4 separate regions of the Homo sapiens genome follow, and all the other regions are linked to region 4. The links are contacts of gene promoters, found by promoter capture Hi-C in blood cells and fetal thymus (Javierre and others, 2016). All regions are on one chromosome and are shown on one strand. Each heading gives the region's core, a stretch centred on a gene start or on the middle of the fragment in contact. The rest is flanking DNA. Distances are from core to core; before and after follow the strand shown.

The links. Contacts are between HindIII fragments. The CHiCAGO score rates a contact against its expected background, and 5 or more counts as called.
Region 1: a contact is called between a fragment that was not itself captured here and the fragment with the promoter of KLC3 in region 4, in 1 of 17 cell types (M1 macrophages). The highest score is 5.0, in M1 macrophages.
Region 2: the fragment with the promoter of RELB here is called in contact with the fragment with the promoter of KLC3 in region 4 in 1 of 17 cell types (M2 macrophages); the score reaches 5.0 in M2 macrophages.
Region 3: a contact is called between the fragment with the promoter of CLASRP here and the fragment with the promoter of KLC3 in region 4, in 1 of 17 cell types (M0 macrophages). The highest score is 5.6, in M0 macrophages.

Annotation. Positions count from the first base shown.
Region 1 is chr19:44,967,719-44,974,245 of GRCh38, forward strand. It overlaps CLPTM1 (CLPTM1 regulator of GABA type A receptor forward trafficking), which reads left to right. Exons shown (of 14, transcript NM_001294.4): 3 at 5,369-5,492. Among named protein-coding and RNA genes, the nearest start is that of CLPTM1, 16 kb to the left of the region's middle. The HindIII fragment of the contact is 617 bases long and covers 3,039-3,655 here.
Region 2 is chr19:44,999,314-45,005,807 of GRCh38, forward strand. RELB (RELB proto-oncogene, NF-kB subunit) reads left to right here and starts at 2,151. Exons shown (of 12, transcript NM_006509.4): 1 at 2,151-2,372; 2 at 3,636-3,683. The coding sequence starts at 2,267. RefSeq lists silencers at 1,975-2,384, 2,705-2,984. The HindIII fragment of the contact is 31,053 bases long and covers 1-6,494 here.
Region 3 is chr19:45,035,378-45,042,110 of GRCh38, forward strand. CLASRP (CLK4 associating serine/arginine rich protein) reads left to right here and starts at 3,668. Exons shown (of 21, transcript NM_007056.3): 1 at 3,668-3,731; 2 at 4,807-4,934. The coding sequence starts at 4,836. It overlaps RELB (RELB proto-oncogene, NF-kB subunit), which reads left to right. Exons shown (of 12, transcript NM_006509.4): 12 at 2,028-2,815. The coding sequence ends at 2,413. RefSeq lists an enhancer at 3,342-4,211. The HindIII fragment of the contact is 10,693 bases long and covers 1-4,328 here.
Region 4 is chr19:45,336,150-45,343,278 of GRCh38, forward strand. It overlaps KLC3 (kinesin light chain 3), which reads left to right and starts at 4,601. Exons shown (of 13, transcript NM_177417.3): 1 at 4,601-4,697. RefSeq lists a silencer at 4,497-4,586. The HindIII fragment of the contact is 17,587 bases long and covers 1-7,129 here.

The sequences.
Region 1 (6,527 bases), core at 2,097-4,596, 370 kb before region 4:
GCAGAACTGCCTGCCTGGTGTCCTCCAAGAGTGTCACACAGGACACTGAGAAACTGCAGGAAAGAAACCTCCCCACTCTGTTAAGTTGCAAAACTGACATGTGTGCCTCAAAAATTCCTGCCATGTGCCCTACGCTTCTCAGTCATGCGCCCCTGTCCCTTACCGTCTCCACTTCACCTCCCCTCCCCATGGCCACGTAAAGACTTCAGATTTTCTTATATATCACCTTCTTTTTTTTCATGCTGCAAGCAGCTCTGCATGAAAATTATTTTTATCTTTCCCTTCATTTTTACATAAGAGGTAGCCTGTTTTACACACTGTTCTGCTCCTTGATTTTTTTCATTAACAATATATCTTTGAAATCTTTCCACGTCAGTGCATAGGGAGCTTCCTTCAGAGAGACATTTTTAATACAAGTCACACTGTAGGCTAATTTCCTTTCTTAGAACTAGGCAGCATCAAACATCAGTTCGGGTGGGTGCTCGGAGACCATCTTGGCTGCAGTTCTTAAAATGGGATCCAGGGTTTGTTTTCAGGGGCCCATGAACTCCTTGTAGCTTGAAGCTGATTATGTGGGAATAGCCTTTCTAGATAGCGGGTGGCGTCTGTGTTTTTGAGCACATGTGGTTACCTGGAGTGGGAGGTGGAGCAGGAACTGGGTATATAAAGGAATGGGGTGGGAGGGAGAGTTTTGATTATACGTCTTTTCATATATTTAAAAATGTTCTGAACCTGTGACTGTAGAATACCTATTTGGGTGGGAGAAAGGATTTAATGTCTGTTTTCTTTGCTTACTCAAGTACATCAGGAAGCATTAGAAAGGTCCAGTCTCCTGCAGGCCTGGGTGCATGGATGAGGGGCCATGGCCATGAGCCCTCTGAGAGGGTCCACAGAACTGTGGGCGTGTGGATACACACAGGACGTTCTTCAGGGGACTGGGGATCTGGAATCCAAAAAGGCCTGGCCTTGTTTTATACATGGGGATCTAGAAGCCCAGAGGGGTTAGGACCCCCACAGCCACACACTAAGCCAGGGGCAGAGCTGCCTGGGGGCATCACTGCTTCTACACTCTCCCCTGGTGTGTTTACTAAAATGAGAGCCTCTGCTGGAGGCATCGGTATCCCCAGAGATTGCCAGGTCCAGACCTTCCCCAGACGTGCATATCAGGGACTTCATGGGGAGGTAGCGATGGCTCAGCTGGACCGTGGCCCCTAAGACCCTGGACCCCAGGGCCTTGTGGCTTCTACAGGCAGAGGCAAGTTCCTGTGCCTGATCCTGCCCCTGATCAGGGCTCAGCAGGGAGGCACCCCACCCACACTAGAATTTACTCATAGTGTTTTTCTGCTCCAAAGTTTTTTGTATGCCTTTTTCCTATGATTAAAATAACAGTAATAGCTAACACTTCTCAGTCACTTACTGGGTATGCACCAGGCTCCATTCTGAGGTACGTGTGCGTGTGTCAGATGTATATACACGCTATATAAACATATATATAATTTAATGTGTTTAATGCTTATAAACTACCCTATGAGAGTAGGCACTGTTATTATCCCCATTTCAACCATTGAAGTTGACCACTGAGGTCACAGTAAGTAGCAGAGCTGGGCTTCAGATGAAGATACTGTAGTTTAGAGGCTGGGCTCATAACCTCTTCTGCTGTATGGTTATCATACCTATAATTAATAAGTACTTGAATCATTTAATCACATGGCTGCATGCAGCTGAGAAACCTCCATTAACACAGTACAGGTTCATTTCTCTCTGATATACCAGTCTGGATGGAGGCAGACTAGGATTCTGCAGTCTTCAGTGACCCAGACTCCTTGCTGTTTGTTGTGCCATTGCTAGGTTTTTCCCTTTATCCTCATAGCCCAAGACAGCTGCTGAAGATTCAGCCATCACATCCACACTCCAGGCAACAGGAGAGAAGAATAAATCAAGAAGGAATATTTCTTCTCTTTAAGGACACTTTTTTTTTTTTTTTTTTGAGATGGAGTCTTACTCTGTCACCCAGACTGGAGTCCAGTGGCATGATCTCGGCTCACTGCGACCTCCACCTCCCAGGTTCAAGCGATTCTTTTGCCTCCGCCTACCAAGTAGCTGGGATTACAGGCGCCCGCCACCACGCCCGGCTAATTTTTGTATTTTTAGTAGAGATGGGGTTTCACCATGTTGGCCAGGTTGGTCTCGAACTCCTGACCTCAAGTGTTGGCTTCCCAAAGTGCTGGGATTATAGGTGTAAGCCACCACGCCCAGCCTCGTTTTGGTTTTGGTATCTGTTGTTGCTGCTGATTCTCGCTCATAATGTCGTTTCCTTTTGTGCCTGGCTTATCTCTGTCTGTGTCCTAGTCATTATACTTGAAAAGTTATTTGTAGGAATTTCAGGGCTAGGATGAGCATATTTTCCTACAGAGAGGATTGCCTTTGCTTCTGCCTGGGGGCATTACCAAGTCCTAGGTTTCCTTGCACCAGGTTCAGGGCTTGAGCTGCCCTTCGTGACTCCTTATCCCACGAGTGGCCTTGCATACTTCGCCCTGCATACCTGTTGTGCAACTCCTGGGAATGGGTAGGCCACCTGGTTCCTTCCTTCTCAGGGGTGGAGGCTTGCACCTTGTGGGGTCTTAGTTTCCTATAGGGTAGGTCTCTGGTTACCTCATATGTTGTATGTGCCCTGGGCTAGCATTTTTTTTTTTTTTTTTGAGACAGGGTCTCACTCTGTTGCCCAGGCTGGAGTGCAGTGGCATGATCGTGGTTCACTGCAGCCTCGACCTCCTGGGCTCAGGTGATTCTCCCACCTCAGCCTCCTGAGTAGCTGGGAATATAGGCATGGTGCGTGCTGCCATGCCTGGCTAATTTTTGTATTTTTTGTAGAAACTGTGTGTTGCCCAGGCTGGTCTCAAACTCCTGGGCTCAAGCAATCCACCTACCTCAGCCTCCCAGCGTGCTGGGGTTACAGGTGTGAGCCACCGCGCCCAGCCTAGGCCAGCATTTTTGTCACCCACCAAAACACCTAGCAGATGTCCTCGGACACATGAAGAAGCTTATAGGGCTCCTTTACTTATTCTTTTTTTTTTTTTCCCCTAGACCTGCAAATCCAAGATCCTTTACTTCTTTTTTTTTTTTTCCTTGAGATGGACTTTTTGCTCTTGTTGCCCAGGCTGGAGTGCCATGGCACGATCTCGGTTCACTGCAACCTCCTTCTCCTGGGTTCAAGCGATTCTCCTGCCCCAGCTTCCCGAATAGCTGGGATTACAGGCATGCACCACCACTCCTGGCTAATTTTTGTATTTTTAGTAGAGATGGGGTTTCACCATGTTGGCCAGGCTGGTCTTGAACTCCTGACCTCAGGTGATCCACCCACCTCGGCCTCCCAAAGTGCTGGGATTACAGGCTTGAGCCACCGCGCCCGGCCGATCCTTTACTACTTTAGGATTCCCACTTTCCCTTCAGTTTTTGCCTGAAGGTTTGGTAACCTACAGTCGTGTCCATTCTTCAGAGCTGTCTATTTATATATATTCATATGTAAACTTGATAAAAATTACATGCATGAGAACAAATACGAGAATACGTGAGCAGCATATATTCTCATTCTATCAATATGTATAATTACAAATATAAAATATATTGATATTTTCTTAGTGTATTAATTTTATCAAGCTTTTCCAATTTTTTCCAGTGAGAGGGTTGGTCTGAATAATTAAGCCCACTGTTACTAAAATTGGAACTAACGTATCACTTACTATCTGCTTCTCCAAAAATTCTCCAAAAGTTCAGAAATGTTGCTCTTTCTAAGCTTCTGTGCCTTCGGTTCTTTTCCTTTTCTTTTTTAAAAAATTTAATTAATTAATTGATTAATTTTTTTGGGACAAGCTCTCTATCTCCCAGGCTGGAGTGCAGTGGCGCAATCACGTCTCACTGCAGCCTTGACCGTCAGGGCTCAAGTGACTCTCTCACCTCAGTCCCCCAAGTAGCTGGGACTACAGGCATGGGCCACCATGCCCAGCTAATTTTTATATTTTTTGTAGAGACGGGATTTCATCATGTTGCCCAGGCTGGTCTCAAACTTTTGAGCTCAAGCAATCCGCCTGCCTCAGCTTCCCAAAGTGCTGGGATTACAAGCATGAGCTGCTACACCTGACCCAATTATACTTTTTTTTTTTTTTTTTTTTTTGAGATGGAGTCTCACTCTGTTGCAAGGCTGGAGGGCAGTGGCGCAATCTCGGCTCACTGCAACCTACGCCTCCCGGGTTCAAGTGATTCTCCTGCCTCAGCCTCCCAAGTAGATGGGACTAGAGGCACGCACCACCAGGCCCAGTTAATTTTTGTATTTTTAGTAGAGACAGGGTTTCACCATGTTGGCCACGATGATCTCGATTTCTTGACCTCGTGATTTGCCCACTTCAGCCTCCCAAAGTTACAGGCATGAGCCACTGTGCCTGGCCTCTATACTTCTTAAGTTATTTTAAAATGTGTAATTAAATTACTATTGACTAGAGTTGCCGTGTTTTGCTACCAAATACTAGATCTCATTCATTCTTTTTTTTTTTGAGATGGAGTCTCGCTCTGTTGCCCAGGCTGGAGTGCAGTGGCGCGATCTTGGCTCACTGCAACCTCTGCCTCCTGGGTTCACACCATTCTCCTGCCTCAGCCTCCGGAGTAGCTGGGACTACAGGCGCCCGCCACCATGCCCAGCTAATTTTTTTGTATTTTTTAGTAGAGACAGGGTTTCACCATGTTAGCCAGGATGGTCTCAATCTCCTGACCTCGTGATCCGCCCGCCTTGGCCTCCCAAAGTGCTGGGATTACAGGCATGAGCCGCCGCGCCCGTCCTCGTTCATTCTATTTTTTGTAGCCATTAACCATCCCCGGTTCTGTGCTTTTGAAGCGCTAGGATTCCAGATTCTTTCTTTTAAAAATTTTATGTTTATTATTTTTTCTTTATTTCTTTTTTCTTTTAATTCATCCATCTGCACACTGAAGGGGTTCCAGATTCTTAGTCTCCTCTCGGGGGATCCCAGGGGGCTGGATGGCAGGTTTCCCAGTCTGAGTCAAGAGTCAGCCCCTGCAGCCCTGTGGTCACCAGGAGCTCCTGCAGGATTTAGAGTCAAGGGTCTGCATGCAGACCAGGGCAGTGCCAGCTACCCCCACACACTGGCAAACGGTGGCATCTGGGCTCCCTCCCCAGATGTGGTCTTTAGGGACATCTTATCTCCTTGCCAGCCCTGTGACTACCTTCTCAGGGCCTCCCTGACTTGGTCACTAGCCCCAGGTCAGGCGCCAGCATGTGCTAAGTCAGAAGGAAGTCAGGCGGGTCTATGGCGGAGAGCCAAGGCTTGGGGACTCACCACCTTGCTGCTTCTCTCCTCAGGATCTTCATCATCTGGGCCATCAGCAGTTGGTTCCGCCGAGGGCCGGCCCCTCAGGACCAGGCGGGCCCCGGAGGAGCTCCACGCGTCGCCAGCCGCAACCTGTTCCCCAAAGACACTTTAATGGTAACTGCCGGGTGGTAGGGCAGACTTGGGAGGTGATGGGGTGTGGAGGGGTGGAATGTGGAGGAGTGATGTCAGCAGTCGGGACAGACCAGGTCCTTGCTCACTGGCAGGTCTAGGAAAACAGGTCCAGGGTTGAGGAACTCTGGGCCCATCCCCAACACGTGAGACCTCTGTCACCTGGGTCCATCCCCAGCACATAAAACCTGTGTCACCCAAAAGAAAAAGCAAATTCATTTGGTTAAAATAGGTTAAATCAGGGTCTTTGGATGTTATATTTCAAAAGTATGTTCAGCCTTTCAGGGTTGCAGAGGGAGATGTGCAAGGGAGAGAGTGTGAGAGGTGGGGAGGGCAGGGAGCCAGCAGAGGCTGACAGGAGGTGGGCCCGGAAGGAGAGGAGACCTGCACTTCCACAGTGGGCTTGGGCACAGGCAGGGCAGGGCTTCAGGAGCCTCCAGAGCAAAAGCATTTAGATCTGTCAGTCTAGGCTTTTCTGAGCAAACATGGCCATTGGGGCTTGAGAAAGGAGGAAGTTCTTGTTGGGTCACAGTGGGTTTTTTTTTTTTTTTTTTTTGAGATGGAGTCTCACTCTGTCGCCCAGGCTAGAGTGCAGTGGCATAATCTTAGCTCACTGCAACCTCTGCCTCCCGGGCTCCAGTGATCCTCCTGCCTCAGCCTCACGACTAGCTGGGATTACAGGCATGTGCCACCACGTCCAGCTAATTTTTTGTATTTTTAGTAGAGATGGGGTTTTACCTTTTTGGTACGCTGGTCTCGAACTCCTGACCTCAAGTGGTCTACCCGCCTTGGCCTCCCAACGTGCTGGGATCACAGGCATGAGCCACCGTGCCCGGTGGCTCACAGTGCTTTTGTAGCTCTGGACTGCTTCGTCCATAAGCCTGCAGAGCTCTGACCAGGAAGGCCCAGCAGCCATGAGGGCAGGAGATCATTCAGGGAGCTCCTGCCCCTTCCTACCCCTAAATTCTAATTGGCAGGCTGGCCAGTCTCCAAGTGTTCTTTGTTCGTTGACTTCACAGG
Region 2 (6,494 bases), core at 901-3,400, 340 kb before region 4:
ACTGACTTCATCTCTCTGAGCTTCAGTTTCCCGTCTGTAAAGTGGGTCTAATAATAGGACGGTCATGAGTATTAAATAAAATGATGTTAATAGTTAGTTGCCCTTTGGCCAGGTGCACTGGCTCAGCCTAAGCAACAGATCCTCTCTCTACAAAAATAGAAAACAGGCTGGGCGCAGTGGCTCATGCCTGTAGTCCCAGCTACTTGGGAAGCTGAGGCAGGAGAATCGCTTGAACCCGGGAGGCAGAGATTGCAGTGAGCTGAGATCGCACCACTGCACTGCAGCCTGGGTGACAGAGCGAGACTCCATCTCTCAAAAAAAAAAAGAAAGAAAAGAAAAGAAAACATTAGCCGGATGCGGTGGTGTGTGCCTGTAGTCCCAGCTACTCTGGAGGCTGAGGTGAGAGGATCCCCTTAGTCCAGGAGGTTGAGGCTGTGGTGAACCATGTTCCTGCCACTGCACTCCAACCTCGGTGACAGAGTGACACCCTGCCTCAAAAAAAAAAAAAAAGTTCACATTTGTATATAGCACCCACATGTGCCAGGCCCTGTTCTAAGAATTTTGTGTTTTAAATATTTGTGTCTATTAATTTGTGTGACCTTGGAGAAATTAATTTTGCCGGGTTTCAGTTTTCTCATCTGCTATGTGGGGATCAATAACACCATATACTTCACACAATTGTTGTGAACATTCAACTTACAGAGTTATTTCTTTTTCTTTTTGAGACAAGGTCTCACTCTGTCACCCAGGCTGGAGTGCAATAGCGTCATCACAGCTCACTGCAGCCTCAACCTCCCAGGCTCAAGCAATCCTCCTGCCTCGGCCTCCCAAAGTATTGGGGTTACAGGTGTGAGCCACCGTGCCTAGCCAGAACACCCAAATTTTATACAAGCAAAGGAAAGACAACAAACCCTGCATCTGTGGTCTGAGAGCGCCTGGCATCCAACTTAGAACCTAATAGATCACCTAGTCGTTCTCAGGAATATGAGAGGCTTAGGAATGTGATCTAGCCAAATGGCTGCCCCTCTTTCAGCCTGAGTCCCTTCTGCAATAATCCTATCATATGCTTCTGGCGCTGGTGATAGGGATGAGCTCAGGGTTTAGGCACACAGCTCAGGATGTATACGGAGGCTACACTGCTGCCATTCGCAGACTGAATAACTGAGCTTTTGAGCTCAAAGTGGTCTGGGCTATTTATGGGTAACTTTCAGGGGCTGCAGGGAGGAACAAACCAATAAATAAAACATCCATGCATTCATCCAATAAACTTTTTTTTTTTTGAGATGGGAGTCTCGCTCTGTTGCCCAGGCTGGAGTGCAGTGGCACGATCTCAGCTCACTGCAACCTCCGCCTCCCAGGTTCAAGCTATTCTCCTGCCTCAGCCTCCGGAGTAGCTGGCATTACAGGCGCACACCAACACGCCCAGCTAATTTTTGTATTTTTAGTAGAGATGGGATTTCACCATGTCGGTCAGGCTGGTCTCGAAATCCTGACCTCGTGATGTGCCTGCCTCGGCCTCCCAAAGTGCTGAGATTACAGGCATGAACCACCGCGCCCGGCCTCCAATAAACATTTATTGGGCACCTACGGTGTTCCAGGCGCTGGTCTAGGCGTTGGGGTTACAACAACGCACAAAACATAAATTCTGAAGCTGACACGCTAGCTTTAAACGTTCCTTAAATATCTTCATCCTCAATTTACGGTTGAGGAAACTGAGGTGTAGCGAGACCTTGGAGGTTTCCGAAATATTATTATGGATGGCAGGTGTAGAGCCCTGCCAACCTCTCGATCCTGAAGCTCCCCTTCCAGCCTGAGAAACGGCAGGTTCAAGTCCCACTGGGAGACCAAAGCGGGGAGCGGCTCAGTTTGCCGGCTTGCTCAATGGGTAAGGCGTGATGGCTCTAAGCAGGCCTCAGTTGTCTCGTCCAGAGCAATGGGCAGCGACGCCTGCCCAACCCCTCCTGAGCGCCCAGCCTCCCTTTCCCGGCCGGCCCCGCCCCCGCGATCACGTGACGCGTGGGGGTTTTCCCGTTCCCCAGGCGTGACGTCACGGCGGGGTGCAGACCAATGGGCGCGCAGGCCGGCGGCGCCGGGGAATTCCGCCGCCCCGCCCCCGCCCGCCGCCCGCCCGGCCCGGCCCCGCGCCCCGCGCAGCCCCGGGCGCCGCGCGTCCTGCCCGGCCTGCGGCCCCAGCCCTTGCGCCGCTCGTCCGACCCGCGATCGTCCACCAGACCGTGCCTCCCGGCCGCCCGGCCGGCCCGCGTGCATGCTTCGGTCTGGGCCAGCCTCTGGGCCGTCCGTCCCCACTGGCCGGGCCATGCCGAGTCGCCGCGTCGCCAGACCGCCGGCTGCGCCGGAGCTGGGGGCCTTAGGTAAGCGGGGCTGGGGTTCAGGAGAGGGGTCTGGGGCGGGGCTGGAGATGCGGGGATTCTGGCGGTCCCGGAGTAGTCTGGGGGTTCCTATGGGAGTCTAAGGGTTTCGCGGGGGCAGAGTGAGGGTTCCTGAGACACTGTATTAGGGCGTAGGAAGAAGGCAGAGGGTGATGAGGGGGTACGGCCCGAGGTTCGAGCGAGGCGTCCCGCTGTAGAGTGAGAGGGGGCGGGGCCTGACCCTGAGGCAAAGAAGGGGGCGTGGCCTGACTCAGAGAAGGCGGAGCGAAAGCTGCTCTTGGGCGGTATCGGGGCGGGGCCGGGCCCAGAGAGGGAGAAGAGGGGCGGGATCCGACCCGGACTATGAGAAGAGGGCCGGGCCTGACTCAAAAAAGGAAGCAGGGCCCTACGCTGAGGGGTGAGGGGGCGGGGCCTGGCCGTGAGGGCAGGAAGGGGGCGGGGCCTGAGTTGGCCGAAAGAAGGGGAAGGGGCGGGGCCTGACTCTGGCCGAGTGGAGGGGAAGGGCCTGTTACCCAAAAAAGCAGGGCGGGGCCCGACACAGAGAATGAGGAGGGGGTGGGGCTTGCCTCCAGACGGAGAAGCGGAGCCTTGACATTGAAAAAATTAAAAGTGGTCTGACCCTGACAGGAGGATGTTTTTTTTTGTTTGTTTTTTGTTTTTTTCTTTTGAGATGGAGTCTCGCTCTGTCGCCCAGGCTGGAGTGCAGTGGCACGATCTAGGCTCACTGCAACCTCTGCCTCCCGGGCTCAAGCAGTTCTCCTGCCTCAGCCCCCCGAGTAGCTGGAATTACAGGTGCCCGCCACCACACCCGGCTAATTTTTGTAGTTTTACTAGAGACGGGGTTTCACCATGCTGGTCAGACTGGCCTCGAACTTCTGACCTCAGGTGATCCGCACGCCTCGGCCTCTCAAAGTGCTGGGATTACAGGTGTGAGCCCTTGTGCCCAGCGGGATGGGGACTTTTTAAACTGAGATTGAGATGGGGTCCCCTCCAGGCCCAACTTTAAGGGAGAAAAGGAGCGGGCCCTGAGTGTGATGAAGGGTGGGGCGAACCACAGAAACTAAAGGCCAGGACCTGTCCATGATTTAGCTGGTAAGCCTGGCCAGACGCAGGGGGGCAGTCAGGGCGAGGGGCCTGATCCAGAGGGGAAGGGCTAGAAGAGGAAGGGGTGGGGCTTCCTTGGGATATTCTCTGGTCCTCTGGCTGCCCCCCATCACCTCCTGAGACGTTTCTCCTTCTCTGCAGGGTCCCCCGACCTCTCCTCACTCTCGCTCGCCGTTTCCAGGAGCACAGGTGAGCAGCCCTCCACAGTTCCTGCCCACTCGCTCATGCAGGATGAGGTTGGGAGGACTCCACAGAGATGTCTCTGTTTGGGGGTTCACGAGGTCCACCTCAGCTTTCTCCTGACAGGGTGCATCCCTCCCTGCCAGTTGAGATGGGCCCCCTAGGTTTTCTTACCTCTTGGACTGTTAAGAGCGTGACAGGTGGCCGGGCGCGGTGGCTCACGCCTGTAGTCCCAGCACTTTGGGAGGCCGAGGCGGACGGATCACGAGGTCAGGAGATCGAGACCATCCTGGCTAACACGGTGAAACCCCGTCTCTACTGAAAATACAAAAACAAAATTAGCCGGGCGTGGTGGCGGGCTCCTGTAGTCCCAGCTACTCGGGAGGCTGAGGCAGGAGAATGGCGTGAACCTGGGAGGCGGAGCTTGCAGTGAGCCGAGATCGCACCACTGCACTCCAGCCTGGGAGACAGAGCGAGACTCCGACTCAAAAAAAAAAAAAAAAAAAAAAAAAGCGTGACAGGTAAATCTTACCACCTATCCATGCGCAAAGGCTTCTTTAGAGATTCACTGTGGCTTAGTAGAAGGTAATCACTGCCATCCTGGGCTTTGGAGCTGGGGTTTACATACTGCTGTCATCGCCCCTCCCTGTGTGAATGTCTGCAAGTCAGTTCCCCAGTTCAGGCCTCAGTTTTCCTCATCTGTAAGATGGACAGAATAACAGTGCCTCTCTTTCAGGGAAATTGAGAGTATTCAATGAATTGATACAGGTACACTTTCCAAGCAGTATCTGGCACACAGTAAGGGTTCAGTAAGTGTTAACTGTTAGTGGTATAATAATAATAACGATAATAATTATTATTACTAGACAGTCTATAACAGTGGTTCATTTTTGGTGTGTGTGTGGGTTTTTTTTGTCTGTTTTTTGTGTTTTTTTTTTTTTTTTTTTTTTTTTTGAGACAGAGTCTCGCTGTGTCACCCAGGCTGGAGTACATTGATGCGATTTTGACTCACTGCAATCTCCACCTCCCGGGTTCAGCAATTCTCCTGCCTCAGCCTCCTGAGTAGCTGGGATTACAGGCACCCGCCACCACAACCCACTTTGTGTCTTTAGTAGAGATGGGGTTTCACCATGTTGGCCAGGCTGGTCTTGAACTCCTGACCTCAGGTAATCCGCCCGCCTCAGCCTCCCAAAGTGCTGGGATTACAGGTGTGAGCCACCTCGCCTGGCCAGACAGTGGTTCTTTTTTTTTTGAGACGGAGTTTCATTCCTGTTGCCCAGGCTGGAGTACAATGGCGCGATCTCGGCTCACTGCAACCTCCACCTCTCAGGTTCGAGCAATTCTCCTGCCTCAGCCTCCCAAGTAGCTGGGATTACAGTCATGTGCCACCACGCTCAGCTAATTTTTTGTATTTTTAGTAGAGACAGGGTTTCTCCATGTTGGTCAGGCTGGTCTCGAACTCCTGACCTCAAAGGATCCGCCCTCCTCGGCCTCCCAAAGTGCTGGGATTACAGGCGCGAGCCACCGTGCCTGGCCAGACAGTGGTTCTTAAACCATGTGCATCAGAATCATCCATAGCGCTAGTTAAAACATAATGTCGCCTGATGTGGTGGCTCATGCCTGTAATCCCGGCACTTTGGGAGGCCGAGGTAGGCTCATCACCTGAGGTCGGGAGTTCTAGACCAGGCTGACCAACATGGAGAAACACCATCTCTACTAAAAATACAAAATTAGCTGGGCGTGGTGGCGCATGCCTGTAATCCCAAATATTCAGGAGGCTGAGGCAGGAGAATCACTTGAACCTGGGAGGTGGAGGTTGCCGTGAGCCGAGATCATGGCATTGCACTCCAGCCTGGGCAACAAGAGTGAAACTCCGTCTCAAACAAACAAACAAAAAAACAGCCGGCCGTGGTGGCTCACTCCTGTGATCCCAGCACTTTGGGAGGTCGAGACAGGCAGATCACAAGGTCAGGAGTTCAAGACCAGCCTGGCCAATATGTTGAAACCCCATCTCTACTAAAAATACAAAAAAAATTAGCCAGGCGTGGTGGCAGGCACCTGTAATCCCAGCTACTTGGGAGGCTGAGGCAGGAGAATCACTTGAACCCGGGAGGCGGAAGTTGCAGTGAGCGGGGATCGTGCCACTGCACTCCAGCCTGGGTGACAGAGCAAGAGCCTCCGTCTCAGGAAAAAAAACAAAAAACCATGTCAGGCCCCACCTCTCGAGTTTCTGATTCAGTAGGTTTGGGATGAGAAATTATTTGCATTTTTAGCAAGCTCCCAAGAGATGCCTAGAACTACTAGTCTATAAAGTCCCCCAGCCAAAATTCAGTGCTGCCCAAGGAAATGCAGAATCTCAACCAAATTATGACATTTTTTCTTATATACATTTGCCAGGATTTGGAGGGCAGGGGTAGTCCTGTTGTTATGAATACTCAGTGGCTCCAGTTAGCTGGGTCTGGGCCTTTCTCTGGAGATATAATCTTGGGATGGACCCAAGTTCTGGCTTGGCCATTGAAGAAGTGAGGCCGGTTCCCCAACAGGTCTGTGAGTTTAGGGAGGATGGCATCAGTGACAGACACTGCCCAAGCGGTGGTCCTGCGCAGGAACAAGGCTGAGACTTTTCTTTTTTTTGAGACAGAGTCTCGCTCTGTCACCCAGCCTGGAGTGTAGTGTCACAATCTCGGCTCACTGCAACCTCCGCCTCCCAGGTTCAAGTGATTCTCCTGCCTCAGCCTCCCGAGTAGCTGAGATTATAGGCGTGTGCCACCATGTCCACCTAATTTTTGTATTTTTAGTAGAGACGGGGTTTTGCCATGT
Region 3 (6,733 bases), core at 2,418-4,917, 300 kb before region 4:
GTGTGGTGGTGCACACCTGTAGTCCCAGCTACTTGGAGGCTGAGGCAGACAAATCACTTGAACCCAGGAGGTGAAGGTTGCAGTGAGCCAAGATTGCACCACTGCACTTTAGCCTGAGCAACAGAATGAGACCCTTCTCAAAACAACAACAACAACAACAACAAAACAGGCCTGGCACTGTGGCTTACGCCTGTAATCCCAGCACTTTGGGAGGCCAAGGCAGGTAGATCACGAGGTGAAGAGAGAGAGACCATCCTGGCCAACATGGTGAAACTCCATCTCTACTAAAAACACAAAAATTAGCTGGATGTGGTGGCACATGCCTGTAGTCCCAGCTACTTGGGAGGCTGAGGCAGGAGAATCATTTGAACCCAAAAGGTGGAGGCTGCAGTGAGCCAAGATGGTGCCACTGTGTTCCAGCCTGTCAACAGAGCAAGACTCCGTCTCAAAAACAAGAAACAAAAAACAGTCCATAGGTAGGTGTTCCAGGGATGGTCTGGTGACTGCATGATCATCGAGAGACCGAGGCTTCTGCCATTTTCAGTTCGCCAACTCATGGTGCAAGGTGGCTGTTGTAGCTCCAGCCATTACGCCCACGTTCCAGTTAGCAGACCTTAGTCACATGATCACATCAGGCTGCAAGGAAGGCTAGAAAATAGTCCCTTGTGTCTCTAAGGTTTGTCTTGTTCCAAAAAGAGAGTCCCTCTTTTTTTTTGAGATAGTCTTGCCCTGTTGCCTAGGCTGGAGTGCAGTGGCACAATCTCAGCTCACTGCAATGTCCACCTCCCAGGTTCAAGTGATTCTCCTGCCTCAGCCTCCTGAGTAGCTGGGATTACAGGTGCCCACCACCATGCCCTGCTAATTTTTGTATTTTTGGGAGAGAAGGGGTTTCGCCATGTTGGCCGGGCTGGTCTTGAACTTCTGACCTCAGGTAATCTGCCCGCCTCGGCCTGCCAAAGTGCTGGGATTACAGGCGTGAGCCACCATGCCTGGCCTGAGAATCCCTCTTATAATGAAACTTTTTGATTTGATTGTTATTTTTTCTTAAGTCCCCATTATGCCTGAGAATGACATTTATTTTTTCTGACAATTTTGGGACTGGTGACTTCCCAACTTGTGTCTCCCATGGTCTGGAGATTTCACTTTTTGGGTTGTCTCTGTATGTTGGGGGGCTTTGGAACCTCTTCTCCTTTCTCACTCTCAGGGAAAACTCTCCACAGCTGTGTAGGAGCATGGTTTCAACCCCAGTTCCACAACAGCTGTGTGAGCCTTCCATTTACTTTCCCTCAGTGCCTTAGTTTACTTATTATTAATTATTTTTAGAGATAAGGTCTTGCTCTGTTGCCCAGGCTGGAGTGCAGTGGTGTGATCATACTTCGCTGCAGCCTCAAACTGGGCTCAAGCAATCCTCCTGCCTCAGACTGCCAGGTAGCTGGGACTACAGGCGGGCACCACCACACCCAGCTAACTTTTAAATAATTTTTTTGTAGAGACAGGGTCTCGTCACGTTGTGCTGGGATTACAGGTGTGAACCACCACGCTTGGCCTTCAATTTACTTATTATCTGAGAATGGTGATAGTCCCACACGGATTCTCCTTGGGATTAAGAGGGCACCTAAGGCCAGGCTTGGTGGCTCACACCTGTAATCCCAGCACTTTGGGAGGCCGAAGCAGGTGGATCACCTGAGGTCAGGAGTTCGAGACCAGCCTGGCAAACATGGTGAAACCCCGTCTCTACTAAAAAGATAAGAATTAGCTGGGCATGGCACATGCCTGGCCTGTAGTTCCAGCTACTCAGGAGACTGAGGCAGGGGAATCAACTTGAACTGGGGAGGCAGAGGTTGCAGTGAGCCAAGAGCACGTCATTGCACTCCAGCCAGGGTGACAGAATGAGACTCCATCTCAGAAAAAAAAAAAAAAAGGCCACCTTGATATCACATTTTGCAGGGAGTAGGGCATTTGATTTAGGGCCTGATCAGAAGTTAGCCCTAAATCACACTACACTTCTCTTGTCTTCATCCCCGTAGGCCCGTTCCTCCCGCCGTCAGCCCTGCTGCCAGACCCTGACTTCTTCTCTGGCACCGTGTCCCTGCCCGGCCTGGAGCCCCCTGGCGGGCCTGACCTCCTGGACGATGGCTTTGCCTACGACCCTACGGCCCCCACACTCTTCACCATGCTGGACCTGCTGCCCCCGGCACCGCCACACGCTAGCGCTGTTGTGTGCAGCGGAGGTGCCGGGGCCGTGGTTGGGGAGACCCCCGGCCCTGAACCACTGACACTGGACTCGTACCAGGCCCCGGGCCCCGGGGATGGAGGCACCGCCAGCCTTGTGGGCAGCAACATGTTCCCCAATCATTACCGCGAGGCGGCCTTTGGGGGCGGCCTCCTATCCCCGGGGCCTGAAGCCACGTAGCCCCGCGATGCCAGAGGAGGGGCACTGGGTGGGGAGGGAGGTGGAGGAGCCGTGCAATCCCAACCAGGATGTCTAGCACCCCCATCCCCTTGGCCCTTCCTCATGCTTCTGAAGTGGACATATTCAGCCTTGGCGAGAAGCTCCGTTGCACGGGTTTCCCCTTGAGCCCATTTTACAGATGAGGAAACTGAGTCCGGAGAGGAAAAGGGACATGGCTCCCGTGCACTAGCTTGTTACAGCTGCCTCTGTCCCCACATGTGGGGGCACCTTCTCCAGTAGGATTCGGAAAAGATTGTACATATGGGAGGAGGGGGCAGATTCCTGGCCCTCCCTCCCCAGACTTGAAGGTGGGGGGTAGGTTGGTTGTTCAGAGTCTTCCCAATAAAGATGAGTTTTTGAGCCTCCGGGGTTTCGTCTGTTCTGGGCTTGGGAAACGCCCTAGTCCCTTAGTAGCAAAGAAAGCCTCCAGGCTGGGGGCTCAGGCCTGTCATCCCAGCACTTTGGGAGGCCAAAGCAGGAGGATCGCTTGAGCTCACGAGTTTGAGACCAGCCTGGGCAACATGACGAAACCTAGTCTCTACAAAAAATACAAAAATTAGCCGGGCGTGGTGCTGCGCGCCTGTAATCCCAGCTACTCTAGAGGCTGAGGTGGGAGGATCGCTTGAGCCCAGGAGGTGGACGTTGCAGTGAGCCAAGACCGCACCACTGCACTCCAGCTTGGGCGACAGCGCGAGGCTGTGTCTCAAAAAAATAAAAAATGAAAATGAAAATAAAAAATGAGACCGGGCATGGTGGCTCATGGCTGTAATCCCAGCACTTTGGGAGGCCGAGGCAGGTGGATCACCTGAGGTCAGGAGTTTGAGACCAGCCTAACCAAAATGGTGAAACCCCATCTCTACTAAAAATACAAAAATTAGCCGGGCTTGGTGGCGCGCGCTTGTAGTCCCAGCTACTCGGGAGGCTGAGGTGGGAGAATAGCTGAAACCCAGGAGGCAAAGGTTGCAGTGAGCCTAGATCGCGCCACTGCCTTCTAGCCTGGGAGACAAAGAGAGACTCCGTCTCAAAAAAATAAAATTAAATAAATAAATAAAATAAAAAAGATAAAAAGATAAAGCATCCAAGCTCTTCCCTTCTCCGCTCTCCCACTTCTTCCTCGGGATCCCGCCCCTCTCGACTCTAGGACCCGCCTCTCTCGTCGGCGGAAGTGCGCTGCGCGGCCCTCCACCATGCTCCGCCCCCTCCCCCTAGCGCGGCCTTTCATTTCCGCTTCCGGTGCGGGCCGCGCGCGAGCGCAGCGGTGGGAGGCGGCGACCAGCCGGTGAGTGCAGGCTGCGGCTCGACCTCCCGGTTTTCGGGCAGGCCTCAGCCCAGCTTCTCCCTTTCCTCAGGCTCTCCCCATGCTGCTGTGGGCTTCTGCTGCGTCCCGGCCCCGAGGATCGCTCGTCCCTCACCCCATTAGGCCTGACGGGCCTCAGGCCGAGCCCGTGCCCCGGCTGTGGGCCAGAAGTTGCCGCGTCGAACTCGGCCTTCGGCCCAGCAGCTTATCACAGGCCCCGCCCCCTTGTCAAAAAAAAAAACAACAAAAAAAAAACCCAGCCCAAATCCTCAGGCCGCGACGCGATCCACAAGCCCCGTCCAAACCTTCGGTCTCCGCCCTTTCCCGCAAGCCCTGCCCCCAAGCTCAGCCCACGCCCTCCTGTCAGCCAGCTCCGCCTCTCTCAGGCTCTACGCTCTTTTTCTTTGGATGCTCTCCCCACCCCGCCATCTAGATCCCATCTTTAGACCTCAGCTTCACTCTGGTCTCCTTGCAACACTCCCTCCCCGTGTTCCCACTCCCTCTAGCATCTTCATCTTCCGCCACGCCCTTCACCTGTCCTCGACCTCCACCTTCATACAACTGCACTGTTCCCTTAAAAGCTTTCTCCGATTTCCTCCACCTGCCTTCATCCTTATTCTCCTTATCCCTCTACCACCCAGACTCATACCCAACCCCACGCATGGCCCCTAGTGGGAGCCTTTTCAGTTCTTCTCTTTCTCTTGAGCTCCAGCCTTAAGTGCTCAGGGTTTGCCTTCTGACCCTACTTCAAACACTGCTGATGTTTCAAAACCTTTCATTCCCGACTCCAGCGCGTGGAATCTAGGACACCCCTTTCCCAGTGATGCTCACCTCAGAATCACCTGAGGGTTTTTCAGAATGCCCAAGCTTCTAGATCGAAGTTGTTAGGGATGGACTTGAACATCTGGCATACTGTTCTGCAGCTTCACTTCTGCTCCCTGAAGCTAAGAGATGTGTTGTTTGGGATCGACTCTGCCACCAACTTGTTAGATGACTTTGATTCTGCCCATACGGGTTTCACAGACCATCTGACTTTCCTGGTCCCTTCATCCCTCAGGTTGAGGCCCCAGGCTTGGCCTCACCACAATGTGGCACGAGGCTCGGAAGCATGAGCGGAAGCTTCGAGGCATGATGGTCGACTACAAGAAGAGGGCGGAGCGGAGACGGGAGTATTATGAAAAGATCGTGAGTAACTGGCCTTTTGTCTGGGGTGAGGGACCCTGGGTTGGGGGGCACAGCTGGTCATCCTGGTAAAATCTGGGCTTGGAAGTATGTCAAGACAAGAGGCTCATTTCCTCAGGAGTATATTCATTAATCTTTTCTTGAGGATAATCATTGGTGGGATCCCAAGGGCTTCTGTTTGTTGTAGCATACTGTGTCGTTTGGTGTGGCCTCCCAGTGCCGATCCGGTGTTAGCAAGAAAAAGGGAAGTCTCTGTAACCCTCAGAGCAGTCCTGACGTTAGACTGGCCACCTCCAGAATGTCTGTTTCGCTTATTGCTGTGTTCCCCATTCCCAGAAGAGCTCAGCCACTCTTGAGATTTGGCTTGGCACACAATAGGAGTGAGTATTAAGTTGGCCTGGCACAGTGGCTCACGCCTGTAATCCCAAGTGGATCACCTGAGGTCACGAGTTCGAGACCAGCCTGGCCAAAAGGGTGAAACCCCATCTCTACTAAAGATACAAAAATTAGCCAGGCTTAGTGGTGTGTGCATGTAGTCCCAGCTACTTGGGAGGCTGACGCACGAGAATTGCTTGAGCCCGGGAGGAGGAGGCTGTAGTGCATGGAGATTGTGCCACTGAACTCCAGCCTGGGTGACAGAGCAAGACTCAACGCCTGTAATCCCAGCACTTTGGGAGGCCGAGGTGGACAGATCACAAGGTCAAGAGATCGAGACCGTCCTGGCTAACACGGTGAAACCCCATCTCTATTAAAATACAAAAAATTAGCCAGGTGAGGTGGCGGGTGCCTGTAGTCCCAGCTACTCGGGAGGCTGAGGCAGGAGAATGGTGTGAACCGGGGAGGGGGGCAGAGCGGAGCCTGCAGTGAGCTGAGATAGCACCATTGCACTCCAGCCTGGGCGACAGCGAGACTCTGTCTCAAAAAAAAAAAAAAAAAGACTGTCTCAAAAAAAAAGGAGTGAATATTAAGTGAAACCTGACCACTTCCCTCTCCTGTCTGATGCTTCAGTTGTTTTTGCGGGGAAGACCAAACTATCCCTGGCCTAAAAGACCCTTGTGGTCTGACCACTCAGCTTCATACTCGGACAGCTCCACTGGCCTTCTATTTCTGCCACCACAGGGCTTTGGCCTATATTACCCCCCCTCACCTATTTAACTCCTGTGTATCCTTGGGATCCCAGCTTGAAATGGCACCTGTTTTCTAGGTTCAGTGTTCCTGTCAGATGACATTTATATAGACCTTTCCCAGTTATTCCTGTATTACTGCCCCAGCCTCCTCCCTGGTCTGCTGGCCTCCAGTCCTGGCTCCTCCAGTCTGTCCTTCCTAGAAGAGTCCAAGAGGCCTTTCTAAAGCACAAAACTGACCCTGTCCCTTCGTTGCTCAGAGCACCTCTATGCCTCCTAAGTGCCCTTGAGAGAAAGCCCAGGCTCCTCACTGTGGCCTTTAGGGTCCTGCATGGCCTGGCCTTTGCCCTTCCTCCAGACTCACACCACCCCACACTCTGCCTTGTTCCTTTGCACAAGTCATTTTGGCCTCCTTGCTATTCCTCCACTGACCCAAGCGCTCCCCAGCCACAGGACCTTTGTATGAGCTCTTCCCATACCTGGTTAACTACTGCTTATCTGTCAGATCTCAGTCCTCAGAGAAGTCTTGTTTCCCAAGCTCAGTCAGGTGTCCTCTAAAAATGCCATAATCATAGCTCCCTTTCCTTCCCCTTTGTGGAATTTAACACACTTAAGATACACATACATGGGCCTGGTGTGGTGGCTCACGCCTGTAATCCCAGCATTTTGGGGGCCAAG
Region 4 (7,129 bases), core at 3,351-5,850:
CTCAGCCTCTCTGTGCCTCATCTTTTTCACCTGTGGAATGGAGCGAATCATCGCAGCTGGTGTGAAGATTAACAATTTGTATATAGGAGTTGGCACAGGGCCAGTCTGGGGTAAGAACTCAAACATCAGCCATTGTTGGCGTTGTGCAAAAGTACTTGGAACACCGCTGGCCTAAAGGAAGGTTTTCCTGGCCAGGTGTGGTGGCTCACGCCTGTAATCCCAGCACTTTGGGAGGCCGAGGCAGGCAGATCACGAGGTCAGGAGATCAAGACCATTCTGGCTAACACGGTGAAACCCCGTCTCTACTAAAAATACAAAAATTAGCTGGGCATGGCGGTACGTGCCTATAGTCCCAGCTACTCCGGAGGCTGAGGCAGGAGAATTGTATGAACCTGGGAGGCGGAAGTTGTAGTGAGCCGAGATTGTGCCACTGCACTCCAGCCGGGGAGAAAGAGCATGACTCCGTCTCAAAAAAACAAAAACAACAACAGCAGCAACAAAAGCAAGAAAGGTTTTCCTTAGTTAACACTTTCTTCTTCTTTCAATCTTTATCTCATTTAAGTCTCACCTCAATGCTGTGTGATGAGTGTGATCATCCCCATTTTACTAGACGAGGAGACAGAGGCTCAGCCAGAGATCATTGTTCCCCCGGTTTACATGGAACAGAAATGGCAGGGCCAGGATTTAAACCTAGATCTGCCTGGCTCCCCGCCCGGCTCCATCCCCTGCCCTCCCCCAACACACATAGTATTTACCGGGTGCTACCCTGTTCTAAGCCTTTTCTGGGGGATTATACAGTAATCCTCACCACAGCCTTAAAGTAGGGTACCCTGTGAGTCTCGTTTGACAGACTAGAAATCTGAGGTCCAGAGAGGTTACTTCTTGGCTCAGAGGGTCACACAGCTAGCAAATGACCCAGCTGAGATTTGTCCCTGCTGGCCTGGCTCCAGTCCCTGCACTGCCTGTGGTAAGCGTGTAGCAGATCCAGATCCAATGTCCAGCGTCGTGAGGCCAAAAAAATGGGGGGCAGGGGGAAGGCTCTGCTGCCCCTCGATCCTGTGCTGTTGAAATAGCTGGAGCTAGCACTTTGGAAGGCCGAGGCGGGTAGATCACCTGAGGTCAGGAGTTCGAGACCAGCCTGGCCAACATGGCGAAACCCTGTCTATACTAAAAATATAAAAATTACCTGGGCGTGATGGTGCACACCTGTAATCCCAGCTACTCTGGAGGCTGAGGCAGGAGAATCATTTGAACCCGGGAGATGGAGGTTTCAGTGAGCCGAGATCATGCCATTGCACTCCAGCCTGGGCAACAGAGACACTGTCTTTTTTTTTTTTTTTTTAGGGGATGGAGTTTTGCTCTTGTTGCCCAGGCTGGAGTGCAATGACGCCATCTTGGCTCACTGCAACCTCCGCCTCCCTGGTTCAAGTGATTCTCCTGTCTTAGCCTCCTGACAAGCTGGAATTACAGGCCCATGCCACCAAGCCCGGCTAATTTTTGTAATTTTAGTAGAGACACGGTTTCATCATATTGGTCAGGCTGGTCTCGCCCTCCTGATCTCAGGTGATCCGCCCTCCTGATCTCAGGTGATCCGCCCTCCTAGGCCTCCCAAAGTGCTGGGATTATAGGCATGAGCCACCACTCCCAGTGAGATGCTGTCTTAATTAAAAAAAGGAAGAAAGAAAGAAATAGCTGGAGCTTGGCACAGTGGCTCATGCCTGTAATCCCAGGACTTTGGGAGGCCAAGGCAGGAGGATCGCTTGAGGTCAGGAGTTCAAAACCAGCCTGGGCAATATAGGGAGACCCCCATCTTTACAAAAAACAACAAAAAGTAGCTGGGTATGGTGGTGCATTTGTAGTCCCAGCTACCTGGGACTTGGGAGGCTGAGGAGGGAGCATTGCTTAAACCCGGGAAATCAAGGCTGCAGTGAGTTACGACTGCCACTGCACTCCAGCCTGGGTGACAGAGTGACACCTGTCTTTTAAAAAAGCTAGAGTAGGCCGGGCATGGTGGCTGACGCCTATAATCCCAGCACTCTGGGAGGCCGAAGTGGGTGGATCACCTGAGGTCAAGAGTTCAAGACCAGCCTGGCCAACATGGGAAACTCCATTTCTACAAAAATATAAAAATTAGCAAGGCATGATGGTGGGTGCCTGTAATCCCAGCTGCTTGGGAGGCTGGGGCGGGAGAATCGCTTGAACCTGGGAAGCGGAGGTTACACAATGAGCCAAGATCGTGCCACTGCACTCCAGCCTGGGCAACAGAGCAAGACTGTCTTAAAAAAAAAAAAATGCTGGAGTAGTTAGGATATGAGTTTGAATTTTTATTTCCATGATTCAATCAGCACCTATTCTCCCAAATGCCTTCTCTGCGTTGGGCCTGTGCTAGGTGGCACTGGGGACACAGTGGAGACTGACATGGCCCCTGGCCGCCTCCTCCCTTCTTGGGGCTCATAGTCTAATATGGGACTGACCTGTCTCCCCACACTGATGACCCAGAGTTGGCAGGGCTGGATGTGGGAGCCCAAGAGCCTGGAAACCTGGGAAATAAGAAAGGGCTTCCTGGAGGAGGAAGCATCAGCACTGGGGCTCAGACAACAGGGAAGTAGAGGGCACGTTGGCTGCAATTCGGAGGGAGCGCGGAGCTGTGCCGAGTCTGGAGTTTGGTCCACGGACCAGCAGCGCCCTCTGCTGGAAGCATTTCATAGTGTAGTGACCGGGGTACCGCGCGCATTGAGCCATGTATGTATGTATGCATTTATTTATTTTTGAGATGGAGTTTCGCTCTTGTTGCCCAGGCAGGAGTGTAATGGTGTGATCTCGGCTCACTGCAACCTCTGCCTCTGGGGTTCAAGCGATTCGCCTGCCTCAGCCTCCCAAGTAGCTGGGATTACAGGCGTGCGCTACCACACCCGGCTAATTTTGTATTTTTAGTAGAGATAGGGTTTCACCATGTTGGCCAGGCTGGTCTCGAACTCCTGACCTCAAGTGATCCAGCCCCCTCGGCCTCCCAAAGTGCTGGGATTACAGGTGTGAGCCACTGCGCCGTCCTCAAGTTATATTAGAATCGTGTCCTCCCAGCTTTGGCCAGCTTACTATTCTAGGACTTGATTCCTTCATTCAGTCACAATTTATTGAGCACCGACTTTGCATCAAGCTCTTGCTGAAGATAACAGTGCTGACAATATACAGCCCTGCCCTCAGAGCTTATATAGTAGAGGAGAAAAAGTGAACCCATAATATACAGTCAGTAGCGAGTATTTACTAAGTACTTTCTATTTGCGAGGCCCTGATAAAAGTACTGTCCTGGCCAGGCGCGGTGGCTCACGCCTGTAATTCCAGCACTTTGGGAGGTCGAGGTGGGCAGATCACCTAAGGTCAGGAGTTCGAGATCAGCCTGGCTAACATGGGGAAACCCCGTCTCTACTAAAAATGGAAAAATTAGCTGGGCATGGTGGCGGGCGCCTGTAATCCCAGCTACTCGGGAGGCTGAGACAGGAGAATGACTTGAACCCAGGAGTTGCAGTGAGCCAAGATAAGATAGCGCCATTGTACTCCAGCCTGGGTAACACAGCGAGACTGTGTCTCAAAAAAAAAAAAAAAAAAAAAAAAGTACTGTCCCTGTATTAGTTAACATTCAATTCTCAAAGCCTTAGACTATTTATATTTTATTGACTAGGGAAACTGAGGCACAGAGAGGTTAAGTTACTTGCCCAAGGCCTGCACAGCAAGTAAGTGCCGGAATCAAATTTGAACCCTGAGCCCAATTCTTAGATATCACATTCCCTTGCCAATAACATAATATATAACATAACATAATGATGTGATATATGTTATATAAAATAACTTTAGGGGCCGGGGGCGGTGGCTCACTCCTGTAATCCCAGAACTTTGGGAGGCCGAGGCGGGAGGATCACTTGAGGTCAGGAGTTTGAGACCAGCCTGGCCGACATGGCGAAACCCCGTCTCTACTAGAAATATAAAAAGTAGCCGGGCGTGGTGGCAGACACTTGTAGTCGCAGCTACTCGGGAGACTGAGATGGGAGAATCGCTTGAACTTGGGAGGTGGAGGTTGCAGTGAGCCGAGATCGCGCTACTGCACTCCAGCCTGGGTGACGGAGCGAGACTCCCTCTCAATAAATAAATAAGGTAATTTTAGGCCCTGAAAAGTTTTGTGAACAAAATCAAGAGGAGTATGTAATGTTTTGGTGGAAGGGTGCCATTTAGAAGGGGGCAATCAGGGAAGGCCTGCCGGAGGAGGTGGCCTTTGAGAAGAGACCTAAAGACGATGAGATCTGTGGGAAGAGAGATCGAAGCAGGCCACACAACCAAGGAAAAGGCTCTGGGGCAGGCACTGCAAGAAAGCCACCTGTCTGGGATCTAAAGTTTCCAAAGTTTTAGCTTGGCCAAGGCCCCTGCGCTACAATCACCCTGATTCGAGGTGTCCTGGAGGTTACCAGTTCCGCGTGCGAAGTTCTGCCATTCCCGCGGGGCTGGAGCCCCGAGGCTGAACTTCCCACGGGCGGTGGGCGTGGCCGGCTCACCTGCGGGGGCGTGGCTCCCGGCTGCCCCGCCCCTCGGAGGAGCCGCCCGAGGTCCCAGACGCCCGGCGCAGCGGGAGCGGCGGGGCGTGCCTGGCCTGCGGGACGCGACTGATCGCAGTGGGGCGAAGCGGGGCCGGAGCCGCCCGCGGTCAGGTGGGTGCCGGGAGTGGGGCGCGGGACTCTCGGAGAGCCGCGATGATGGGGGGCGGGGGCAACCCTGGGCCCGCTCGCCCTGAGACGGGGAAGGGCCTTGGGGCTCCCGGATGCCCCCTGCCCCGTCCTGGGGCTCTCCGGGATCTGGAGGCCTGGCTGGGGTCCCATGCCCCCCACCCCAGCGCAGGTAAACAGCGAGGACGGGGCGGGGCCTGGGAGGGAGAGGGAGGGGGCCCTTGTGACTGCGGGTGAGCCTGGTGCGCGGGGCTGGGCAGGCCAGGGTAAGTTGGTGCGGCTTGCGGGGCTGGGCCACGATGGGAGTCTCCTGCCTGCCTGTGTTTGTGTGTGTGTGTGTGTGTGTGTGTGTGGCTTTGCGTGTGTGTAAGAGAGTGTGTCAGGCTGTGGGTATGAGGGTGAAAGCGACTGTCCGTGTAACCCTGTGATGGGACTGTGTGTATGATGTGACACTTTTAGCAATGTGAAAACGTGGGCGACCTCTGACTGGAATGGTGTGTGTGTAGAATTGGATTGCTGGTAGCACTTTACGACCAAGAGCTAGTGCGACTGTAGTCGACTTTCTGCTTGGCCTGATGTGCATGTGTGTGGCTGTGTGTGTGGCTGTCTTCATGGCAGAGAGTGGAACTGGTTGTAGGATTAGGTGTGATTGACCAAGAGGCTGTGCGGCTGTGGTTGTCTTTCTGCCTGTTGGTGTGTGTGTGTGTGTGTGTGTGTGCGCGCGCGCGTGTGGTGGACAGTGTGGCACTGGATCAGTGATAGGTGACTATGATTGACTTTTGATTGTGTGTCACTGTGATGGTGCATGGGGCTGGGCGGAACTGTGTCCAGAAGTGGAGCTGTTTCATGGGACGGTGCGCGTGGAACCTTGGGGTTGGATGAGTGAGGTGTGGAGGTGTGTGAAGCCGTGTGTGCGTGTGTGTGTGTGTGTGTGTGTGTGTAGAGAGGAACTAGAGGGTGTGTGATCTGCATTGATACCGTGGCTGGCAGTGGTGTGCAACGGAGAGTTTGTGGGAGATGGGAGTGGAGACGTGGACATTTAAGTGGGATGCTCCTCCAAGCGGGTGACAGGATGGAAAAGGGGGTCCGCGTCAGGGATCAGTGTGTGGGACTGTGCCTATGATTATCAGCTGTGCGGTTGTGCACCCGGGGCTCTGTGTGAGTGTGGGAGCTGCTGTGTGTCTGGGACACAGCCCGAGTGCTGGATGGCTGTGGTTGAGCCGTGTTTGTTGCTGTGGTTGTCAATCTGGCTGTGGAGTGGTGTGTGTAAGGCTGTGTCTGAGGTTATAGAGGGAGGTTTTACATCGGCAAAATTGTGTGAAGAATGGTTGTGGTTGTCAGGATGACTCTTGAACCTGTGTGGTTGTGAGTTCAACCATTTATGATGTTTGTGTGTGAGGTGTGAGAATAGGTATGGTGTGATATACACAAGCACACAGATTGGCCGGGTGCAGTGGCTCATACCTGTAATCTCAACACTTTGGGAGGCTGAGGCGGCGGGGATTGCTTGAACCCAGGAATCCTAGACTAGCCTGGGCAATATGGTGATACCCCGTCTCTACAAAAACAAAAATTAGCTGGGCATAGTTTAGTTTTTTAAAAATTAAAAAAAGGTTGGCTGGGCGCGGTAGCTCACGCCTGTAATCCCAGCACTTTGGGAGGCCAAGGGGGGAGCGGGTGGATCATTTGAGGTCAGGAGTTTGAGACCAGCCCGGCCAACATGGTGAAACCCCGTCTGTACTAAAAATACAAAAATTAGCCAGGTGTGGTGGCGGGCACCTGTAATTCCAGCTACTTGGGAGGGTGAGGGAGGAGAATCGCTTGAACCTGGGGAGGTGGAGATCGCAGTGAGCCAACATCATGCCATTGCACTCCAGTCTGGGCAACAGAGCGAGACTCAGTCTCAAAAAAATAAAATTAAATTTTTTAAAGGTTGATATATACATCACATATATACACATACATATATCTAGAGAGAGGGAGAGATCAATGACGATCAAGTCTGTGGTGCACAAAACGTACAGGACCCTTACTGTATGTGATCGTGCATGTACAACATGTGCAAAAACCGCTGGGCTGCTTATGGTGGATGCAGTGGCTTGAGTGAAGTGTGCGAGAACGTGGCATCCCTCCACGCGTATTCACAGCTCTCTGTTCCGACAGTGGAGCTGAATCTGAGTACTTGTGTGTGCATGGCGTGTAGGTGTGGGAGTCCCTGCTGGCCAGGCCTGGAGTGGGAGGGAGAGGAAGTAGGGAAACTGGCGAGGGATCCATAGTGAATCTTGGGAGTGTGTGCATCTGGAGGTGCGTTGGGCACATTGTGGGGAGTTGGCTGCTTGGGAGCCATGTGAGTTCGGGGGACAGCGAGTGTCACGGTCAAGTGCAAGGAGATGGTCTGAATGTGAGTGATTTGGGGA